Linked DNA regions of Homo sapiens: regions 2 and 3 are each linked to region 1. Evidence: promoter capture Hi-C in human tissues and cell types (Jung and others, 2019). All regions are on one chromosome and are shown on one strand. Each heading gives the region's core, a stretch centred on a gene start or on the middle of the fragment in contact. The rest is flanking DNA. Distances are from core to core; before and after follow the strand shown. Region 1 holds the start of CABP7 (calcium binding protein 7). Region 2 holds the start of MTMR3 (myotubularin related protein 3). Region 3 has its middle 13 kb from the start of ASCC2.

Region 1 (2,944 bases), core at 159-2,658:
TCTGGGGGGAGGGGAAACCTCAGCACCTCCCCCAGCCCAGCAGGGAAGGAGCTGGGCGGGCCCCAGGGGTCTCACTGCTCCTCAGGACACACTGTCCCGGACCCCTGCCCCTGCCCTCTGCTCTGACCTCGCCCAGCCAGCGGCCTGCCATCCCCCTGCGAGTCTGAGAGGCAGGGGGAACGGGGTGGGGGCGGGTTTGGGTCCTGGCCTCTCTGCCTTTCCCTTCCAGGCTTGGCTATCGCGACTTAGCCGCCCAGTCCGGCCACTTGTTGTCGCCACCGCCTCCCGGGCCGCCTTCCCGGCGCGCCGGGCTGGGGGTCCCCGCAGGGCTGCAGGGAAGGGGCTACGGCCGCAGGTGGGGACGGGGGCGGCCCCGCAGCGGGCAAGAGCAGGGCAGTCGCCCTCTCCCCTTCTGCTGCTGCCCGAGCAGATTGAATTTTTAAAGCGACACGAGCGGAATGTCAATGCGAGCAGAGAGCCGCGGGCGGGCGCCGCGGAGGGGATCAGGATGCGGGTGCTCCGGCCGGGCCGGCGCTGGGGGCTCAGCGCGGACCCCCGCCCCAGTCCGCCGCGTTGCCGCACCGTCACCGCCGACTGCGCGGCCCCGTGACCCCGCTGCGGGGCCCGGCAAGTTTCCGCAGCGCTGGGGACCACGCGGGCAGGGGCTGGGCCGCTCTCCGCCTGAGCGACCCCCACCGCGGCGCCCCGGGGTGCGGACAGGTCTTGCCGCGGGGCACAGCTGCTAGCTGGGGCGCCCACCTGGCAACCGGCACCTGCGGACCGCCCCCCGCCCCCCGCCCCCGCGCCCCTGGCCCGCGCTTCACCTGGGCGCACAGGTAGGAGGGCCGCCGGGGCGGGGATCCCGGCGGACACTCACCCTCCAGCTCGTCCTCCGGGATGTCCACCGGGCGCTGCTCCGACAGCAGGTTGGGCACGGTGTAGATGCCCCGGTACATCAACGCCGCCGTCACCGGGTGGAACGGCATCTTGGAGGCTCCGCGCCCGCCCGCCCGCCGCAAACTTTGAGGCCGGGGCTCATGGGCCGGTGGCGGCCCCGGGGGCGGCTGGAGCGGGCGGGGCGCGCGGCTGCGGAGGGCGGCGGCGGCAGCGGCGAGGCTGGGGACGCCCCTCCGGGGGCCTAGCGCCCCCGCGCCCCGGGCCGCCGGGCCATGCCGCCCGCTCCCTCGTCGGGCTCCCAGCCGGGGCCCCGCAGGGGCAGCGGGGGCGGCGCCGCTCTGGCCTTTCCGAGAGCTCCGGCTGCCTCGCGCGGTGCCCGCCGCGCCCGCTCCTCGGTGCCCCGCGCGCTCCGCGCTGCTCGCCGCCCGCTAGTCCGCTCGCCGGCGCGGCCGCTACCGGCCCGGCGCTCAGGCTGTAGCCGCCTCTCCGCTCGCTCGCTCGCTCGTTCTGTGCCGCGCTGGCTGCGCTCCCCGCCTCCCCCGCCAGCCGCCCGCCCGCCCCCTCCGCGCTCCCCACCCCCAGCCCGCCCCTTCCCGCCGCCGGCCCCTGAGCGGCCGCCCCAAACCTGCCCGGGGCTCCTTCTCCCCTTCGGCCCCGATTCCCCTTTCCCACTAGGGCTCCCCTCTGTTCACTGGCTCTCCTCACCCTAAGTCTGCAGCCACCAGGACCAGGGAGGGGGTGGGTTGCGGGGGTCCTCCTTCCTGCCCCTTGGCTCACCTTCCCCCATCCACGCACCAGGAGCGGAGAGCCCGGAACTAAGAACTGTAGACCCAGAGAGGTGAGACTGGCCCCAAGCACCTGGGTCCTCAAGAAGAGTCACCGTTTCCGTGCCAGGAGGATCCAAGGTGGGGAAACTGAGGCTGAGAGAGAAGGACGTTGACCAAGGTCACAGGGCAGGAGCAGCAGGTAAGAGCTGGGTACACGTCTGGGGTAGGCTTCCTGCCCTGCCTGTGACTGACACCCTGCCGCTGACCTTGCTCCCCACAATGGGGCCCCAGTCCCGGACCCTTCCCAAGCCCCTACCTTTCAGCTTGCAGAAGAGGAGCCAAAGTGTCTCATGGCCCCCAGGGCAGTTCGGGACAGAGACATGGCCCGGTGCCTGTGGGGTCTGGTGTGAGGGCCTGCCAGTTCACATGGCTGCAGCTCAGACCTAATGTATGTGCAGGGCTTCCCCAGGCCCCAGGGCACGTCGGCACCCCAGAGCTGGGGTGGGGGCAGGTGTTTGAGGGAGCAGCCTGCGTGTGCATATGTCTGCTATCCATGAGGGTGTGTATGTGCCACTGGGCACGTGCGCAGGTGTCTGTGACTCCATATGCAGATGGACAAATGTCGGGAGTGTGTGGCCACCTGTGTGTGCCAAGGTTGTACGCTGGCAGGTCGGGGGAGGTGTGCAGGCCCTGGGGCTGGGAGTGGTGTGGGCATATGGTGCACAGATGTGCATGGGAGGGGGTGACCTTCTGGCCTGGCTGTGGCCCCATCTCTGGGTGCTTCCCTGAATCCCCCTACTGGGACCACCTCCCTGCCCCCTTTGGCCCAATCAGCTAAAGGTCCCAGCAGGAACGCTGATTGCACAGCCCTGCCCGGTCCTGCCCTGCCCTTCCCAAGCTGATTACACTTTTCTGCTTGTTTCTGTTTTTGTTACTGATTAATCGCAGCCTTGTCTCAGGGTCTGGGGAGAAGGGGCTCAGTGAGAGATGCTAGCCCCAGCCAAGCGGGGTTGGGTCAGCCTGGGCCCAGCACTTCCTGGGCCCTGCTCTGGAGGGAGCTCCTAGAAACATCTATAACCTGCGGAGGAGCCAGGAAGGACACCAGCTGTCTGTCTGTCTCCCCAGACCTCTCCGGGCTAGCTGGTTGCCCACTGGGACCTGGGCCTGGAGGTGAGAGAGGCCCCAGAAAAGCTCCCACCCCACTCCAAAGCTCTCCTTGCCCACCTGTCCCATCTTCTGACCTTCCACCGCTAGAGCTGAATGCCTTGAGCTTCCCCAGT
Region 2 (2,944 bases), core at 186-2,685, 160 kb before region 1:
CCTGGGCGGGAGAGAGAGATTCTGTCTTAAAAAAAAAAAAAAAAAAAAAAAAAAAAAGTGTCATTCTGTAAGCTCTTCTAGCCTACCCAAGTCATAGGCCCTATAAAGGGAAGACTTTCTGCATGCCATCAATGTCTCCTGTCCTACTGAACAGCCCTGAATCTGAAAGGGGAAGGTCCCCACCACCTCTCCATGGACAAATCACAAACATTTCACATTGAAAAAAATAATAATAATCTCCTGTAATTCAACCCAGGCCTCTTATGGCATTACCATTCACATATGAGAAAGTTGAACCTTAACTAGAAAAGTATATGGTTTTGGGGTTTTGTTTTGTTTTGTTTTGTTTGTTTGGGTTGTGGAAAAATAGATGTCAGAATCAAGATACTACAACAGTAAGAATTTAGGCCTGGGTCTGGAAAGGACATTTGAACATCAATATGTAATAGCAGTCCATGTCCAAAACTCACAAGTGAGATTATCAAATTCCAGGGGAGTCTATTAATGTGGCCAAAAAATCTACCCCATAATTTTGACATAAGTTTTCCAGTCCAAAATACAACCTACAGTATCATCTTATGGGTCCGGAAATGCCATACATCAAGCAAAATTACTACCGGAGAAATAACACTGTAATCATTTGCGGAGCAGTCTGACCAGGGTTCCCTCAGTTACGCCAACCGCCCCCAATCATCCTACCCACCTAAGTACTACCAGGTCAGGGGGATGCCCTGCTGCACGATCGGGCGGTCACTCCTCCTTTCCACAAGGCCCAGGCCCGCACCGTTCGCCCCGGGGCTCCCATGGCCCCTGACCTCCAGTATCCGGCAACGATGGACCGCCACAGACCCGGCAGGGGGCGAAGGGCGCACACCCACCTCCCGGGAGTTCGTGGGAATAACTCCGGGCGCTCCGAGGGTACGTCCCACACCCAGAGCCGCACGGGCCCATCCCCGCCAGGTCTGGGAAGGCAGCCCGAGCCCGGGACCCCGCCTCCCCCGCATCTAGGGTCCGGGCCGAGCTCGGCCGCCGAGCTCCCATTCCCACTCCCACACCCAGCGCCTCCCCCTGGCGGCGACAGCCGCCGGGGACGCCCCTCCCCGGGCCCCGCACGCAGTCCCCAGCCCTCCCAGGGCGCTGCCTCCTCAGAGGGTGACAGCCGCCTGGCCAGGGCCGGGGCCGAGGCCGGCCCCTCCTCCAGCTCTTCCTCACCCGCCGAGGAGACGGAGGACGGGGATGGGGTTCTTACCGGGCAGCAGGACATGGCGAGGCCCTCCACGGCACAGTCTCCCCCTCCGCCACCCCACCAGGCTCCCTGCCAGGGCCGGCGCTGGGCAGCGCCTGAGCCGCTGGGACGTCTCGTCCGGCTGCTACTCCGCCGCCGCCGCCGCCTTCTCACAACCACAACAACATGGCGGCAGCGGCCACACAGAGCGCGCTCCCGACGCCGAGCCGGGCGACGAGCGAGGACGCGCGCGCACGCTCGGGCGCTGAGCCCGGTGTCCGGGAAAGGGGGCGGGTCTCCGCCGGTTGGACGGGGGCGGGGCCTGGACAGGTGGTCACGCCCCAGGAGATGGGCGGGGCTGCAGCTGGGGAGAGGCTCGCGAAAAAGCCCAGCGGAGCAAGAATGGCTAGACAGATGGGAAATGGGTGGAGGAAAAGAGATGACAAAAAAAAATCTGGAAGAAAACCAAAGGTGGTCCTACAGATTTTTAGGAGGCGTCTTTTCCAAGCTCTGTAACCCTGGGCAAGACATGGCTCACTCTACTTACCAGAAAAATAGAACAATAGTGGTATCTTCCACCTGCAATTGTGGTCAGGATAAAACCAGTTTAATATAATGCAAGTAAATATAGTGTTTTAGAAGTTGTATTCAGAATACAATTTCTTTTCTTTTCTTTTCTTTTTTTTTTTTTTTTTTTTTTTTTTGAGACAGAGTCTGGCTCTGTCGCCCAGGCTGGAGTGCAGTGGCATCTCGGCTCACTGCAACCTCTGCCTCCCGGGCTCAAGCGATCCTCACACCTCAGCCTCCTGAGTAGCTGAGACTACAGACTCACAACATCATGCCCGGCTAAATTTTGTATTTTTTGTAGAGATGAGGTTTCTGCCATTTTGTCCAGGCTGATCTCAAACTCCTGGGCTGAAGCAATCCACCCACCTCGGCCTCCCAAAGCGCTGGGATTACAGGCATGAACCACCGCATCCGGTCCAGAATACAATTTCAAACTGATTCAACTTCAGCTCCTAATCAAAAGCTCAGCGGGAAGAAGTGAGTTTTCAAACAAAGTAAAAAACAACTCCCCCAAAAAATTGTAACCTACCCACACTAGCCTGCAGAATTCCACAAACCAGGATTGCATTACCGTAGGCCCTAACAGATTCACCTCCTCTGAGTTGCCTTTTAACATTCTACCCTTGACTTTTCTGGAAACTGGGAGAACTAGTCAAATGAAATCTATTCCTGCGTCTGTTGTAAAGTTTTTCCACAGCACTTTCTGAAATTTATTTTCAATGTTTACTGTCATTTTACTCCACTAAAATGTAAAAGCTACTTGAAGATAAGGATCTTGTCTTGTTCGTCACTGTTTCCCCAGCACCTAGAACTGTGCAGGTTAAGTAGTAGGCAGTCGAATTTCTTGATTAACTAACAGCTGGCTGGGCGCGGGGGCTCACGCCTGTAATCCCAGCACTTTGGGAGGCCAAGGTGAGTGGATCACCTGAACTCAGGTGTTCGATACCAGCCTGGCCAACTTGGTGAAACCCCGGATCTACTAAAAATACAAAAGTTAGCTGGGCATGGTGGCGGGCGCCTGTAATCCCAGCTACTTGGGAGGCTGAGGCAGGAGAATAACTTGAACCCGGGAGGCGGAGGTTGCAGTGAGCTGAGACTGCGCCACCGCACTCCAGCCTGGGCGACAGAGCAAGACTCCGTCTCAAAAAAACG
Region 3 (2,944 bases), core at 158-2,657, 130 kb before region 1:
GGTGTGGTGGCACACTCCTGTAGTCCCGGCTGTTTGGGAGGCTGAGCATCAAGGATCACTTCAGCCTGGAAGGCTGAGACTGCAGTTAGCTGTGATTGTGCCACTGCAGTCTAGCCTGGGTAACACAGCAAGAATCTGTCTCAAAAAAATGAAATAATGGGCCAGCCGCAGTAGCTCACACCTGTAATCCCAGCACTTTTGGAGGCCCATGTGGGCAGGTTGCTTGAGCTCAGGAATTAGAGACCAGCCTTGGCAACTTGGCAAAGTTTCATCTCCATTAAAAACAAATAAATAGCCAAATAGCCGGGTGCAGTGACTCATGCCTGTAATCCCAGCTACTCAGGAGGCTGAGGCAGGAGAATCACTTGAACCCAGGAGGCAGAGGTTGCAGTGAGCCGAGATCATGCCATTGCACCCCAGCCTGGGTGACAGAGTCAGACTCTGTCAAAAAAAAAAAAAAAATATATATATATAAAATAAAAATTAAAAGAAAATAAAATAATAAAAAATAAAGGGAGACGGGGCTGGGTGCAGCAACTCACACCTATAATGTAATTCCAGCACTTTGAGAGGCCGAGGCAGGAGGATCACTTGAGCCCAGGAGTTTGAGACCAGCCTGGGCAACATAGTAAGATCTCATCTCTAAAAAAAAAAAAAAAAAAAAAAAATTAGTCGATGCCTGTAGTCTTAGCTACTTGGCAGGCTGAGGCAAGAAGATCACATGAGGCCAGGAGTTCAAGGCTGCAGTGAGCCATGGTCACACCACTACACTCCAGCTTGAGTGAGAGTGGGAACCCAACTCAAAAAAATAAAAAATAAAATAAAGGGAAAGGGAAAAAGAAACTCTACATCCAAGATGATCTCTGGACGAAAATGACACCAAATACTGGACAATTTAAACAAGCTCCCCTTTTGGGAATGGGCATTGGTGAAGACATTGGGGCTGCCTGAAGGGAATTCTGGACTGTGTTTCCCTCCCCACATCACTTTTAGCCTCTTGAACCTTCACAGTCCATTATAGCCCAGCTTGATTGGCACCTGCTCCTGGAAGCTTTCCCTGACGTCCCTAACCAACTGAAGCTGAGAATATATTTCTCTCTGATTCCATGTATTAGCCACTGACCATTGCCCTGACCACTGCCTGCCTCACAGCCTCACACTAAGCCATGTTTCTGTCACCAGAGATTCTTGGGCCTTAAGATGGCTTTTCTAGCTAGAAGGGAAGAAGAGGTTCAGCAGGGTGCTGGCGTGAGTTGCTCTTAGACTTTTGAGGATGTTTCTTTGAGAATCAGATGAAGCCTCTCAGTCTCTCTACTGAAAAATATTCCCCAAACACAACTGTGTATAATTCAAGGGGGACACAGATCTTGGGAGCCCCTTCATGGACTTGGGTTTAGAATTTGTGCCTCATGGGGAGCCTTCTGTTAAGAAGAGGAACTACAGTTGTTCAGAACGTGTGCTATGGTTTGAATGTGTCCCCTTCAAAATTCAGGTGTTGCCAATGTGACAGTATTAAAAGGTGGAGCCTTTACGAGGTGATTGAGTCATGAGGGCACGGCCCTCATGAATAGGATTAGGTGCCCTCATGAAAGGATTTTTTTTTTTTTTTTTTTTTTGCTCTTGTTGCACAGGCTGGAGTGCGTTGTCACAATCTTGGCTCACTGCAATCTCCGTCTCCCGAGTTCAAGCAATTCTCCTGCTACAGCCTCCCAAGGAGCTGGGATTACAGGCACCTGCCACTACACCCAGCTAATTTTCTGTATTTTTAGTAGAGATGGAGTTTCACCATTTTGGCCAGGCTAGTCTTGAACTCCTAACCTCAGGTTATCCACCCACCTCGGCCTCCAAAAGTGCTGGGATTACAGGCGTGAGCCACCGGGCCCAGCCTCATAAAAGAATTTGATGGAGGGAGTTCAACCCTCCTGCCCTTCTTCCTTCTGCCATGCAAGGATGCACTGTTCCTTCTCTCTGAAGGATACAGCAACATGGCGCCATCTTGGAAGCAGAGAGCAAGGCCTCACCAGACAACCAAACCTACTAGTGCTTTAATCTTGGACTTCCCAGCCTCCTGAACCATTAGAAATAAATTTATGTTCTTTGTAAATATCTCAGCCTCAAGTGTTCTGTTTTAACAGCACAAACGGACTAAGACAGCATGGAAAACAACTCAATCTCTCAGTTTTGCCTCTCCTCAAAATGGCCCTGTCTCAGGGCCAAGGTATTTTAAGGAAGTCAGTAATCAGCAAGGAGCTATTAGATGCCTTCTTTGTGACCCTGGGCAAGTCATTGCCCATCTCTGGACCATGGTTTTTTACTTGGAATTGGAAGAGTTGGTCTAGATTATCCTAGCACTTTGATTCAATCATCAGCCAGCAAATATTTAATGCACACTGTAAGATGCCAGGTACCAAGCTAAGCACTGGGGATAAGGTTGGTGAACAAAACAGATGAGGTCTCTAATTTGTCAGAACACATAGCCTAATGAAGGAGTCAATCACTGATTGACCACACAATAAATACAAGAAGATAAGCTGTGACCAGTGACACACAAGGGAAGTGAAGGGAGCTAACTAGGAATGTGTATATCAGGAAAGTGATTATAACCTGGGAAAAAATGAGATGAAGAGGAGGCTTTACCTTGACAAGGAGAGCAGGGGGTTATTTCAGGCCGAGGAAGCAGCATGGGCTAGTGCCCTGAGGTGTGAAGGGGCCATTGTACTCAAGGAATTAGGTCAGAGCAGCTGCATACTGAAATCTCTGGGGACTGTGCAAGCCCAGAGAGTAGATACCCAGCAAGAAGAGAAAGTAGGGTTCCCCTCTTTTCTTGATGGTCAAGGCAAATCTTCCAGTAACTTATTTTCAAACTCTCTCAAGGAAAGCTAAAGAGCTGGCGATATTCCACTGGATTGAAACCCCAGGTTTAATGGCCAAAACCACTAAGTGT

What was found. The method cuts DNA at HindIII sites, captures the fragments that hold promoters and counts their contacts. A contact is called where the count stands out against the background at its distance.
Region 2: the fragment with the promoter of MTMR3 here is called in contact with the fragment with the promoter of CABP7 in region 1 in 2 of the 25 tissues and cell types used here (dorsolateral prefrontal cortex and hippocampus).
Region 3: a contact is called between a fragment that was not itself captured here and the fragment with the promoter of CABP7 in region 1, in 3 of the 25 tissues and cell types used here (adrenal gland, mesenchymal stem cells and stomach).

Annotation. Positions count from the first base shown.
Region 1 is chr22:29,718,467-29,721,410 of GRCh38, reverse strand. It overlaps CABP7 (calcium binding protein 7), which reads right to left and starts at 1,408. Exons shown (of 5, transcript NM_182527.3): 1 at 878-1,408. The coding sequence starts at 986. It overlaps CABP7-DT (CABP7 divergent transcript), which reads left to right and starts at 1,508. Exons shown (of 3, transcript NR_186695.1): 1 at 1,508-1,863. RefSeq lists an enhancer at 1-99. The HindIII fragment of the contact is 29,567 bases long and covers 1-2,944 here.
Region 2 is chr22:29,881,665-29,884,608 of GRCh38, reverse strand. It overlaps MTMR3 (myotubularin related protein 3), which reads right to left and starts at 1,435. Exons shown (of 20, transcript NM_021090.4): 1 at 1,250-1,435. RefSeq lists silencers at 893-1,392, 1,453-1,622 and an enhancer at 1,335-1,629. The HindIII fragment of the contact is 9,494 bases long and covers 1-2,944 here.
Region 3 is chr22:29,849,535-29,852,478 of GRCh38, reverse strand. No RefSeq gene overlaps it. Among named protein-coding and RNA genes, the nearest start is that of ASCC2, 13 kb to the right of the region's middle. The HindIII fragment of the contact is 4,899 bases long and covers 1-2,944 here.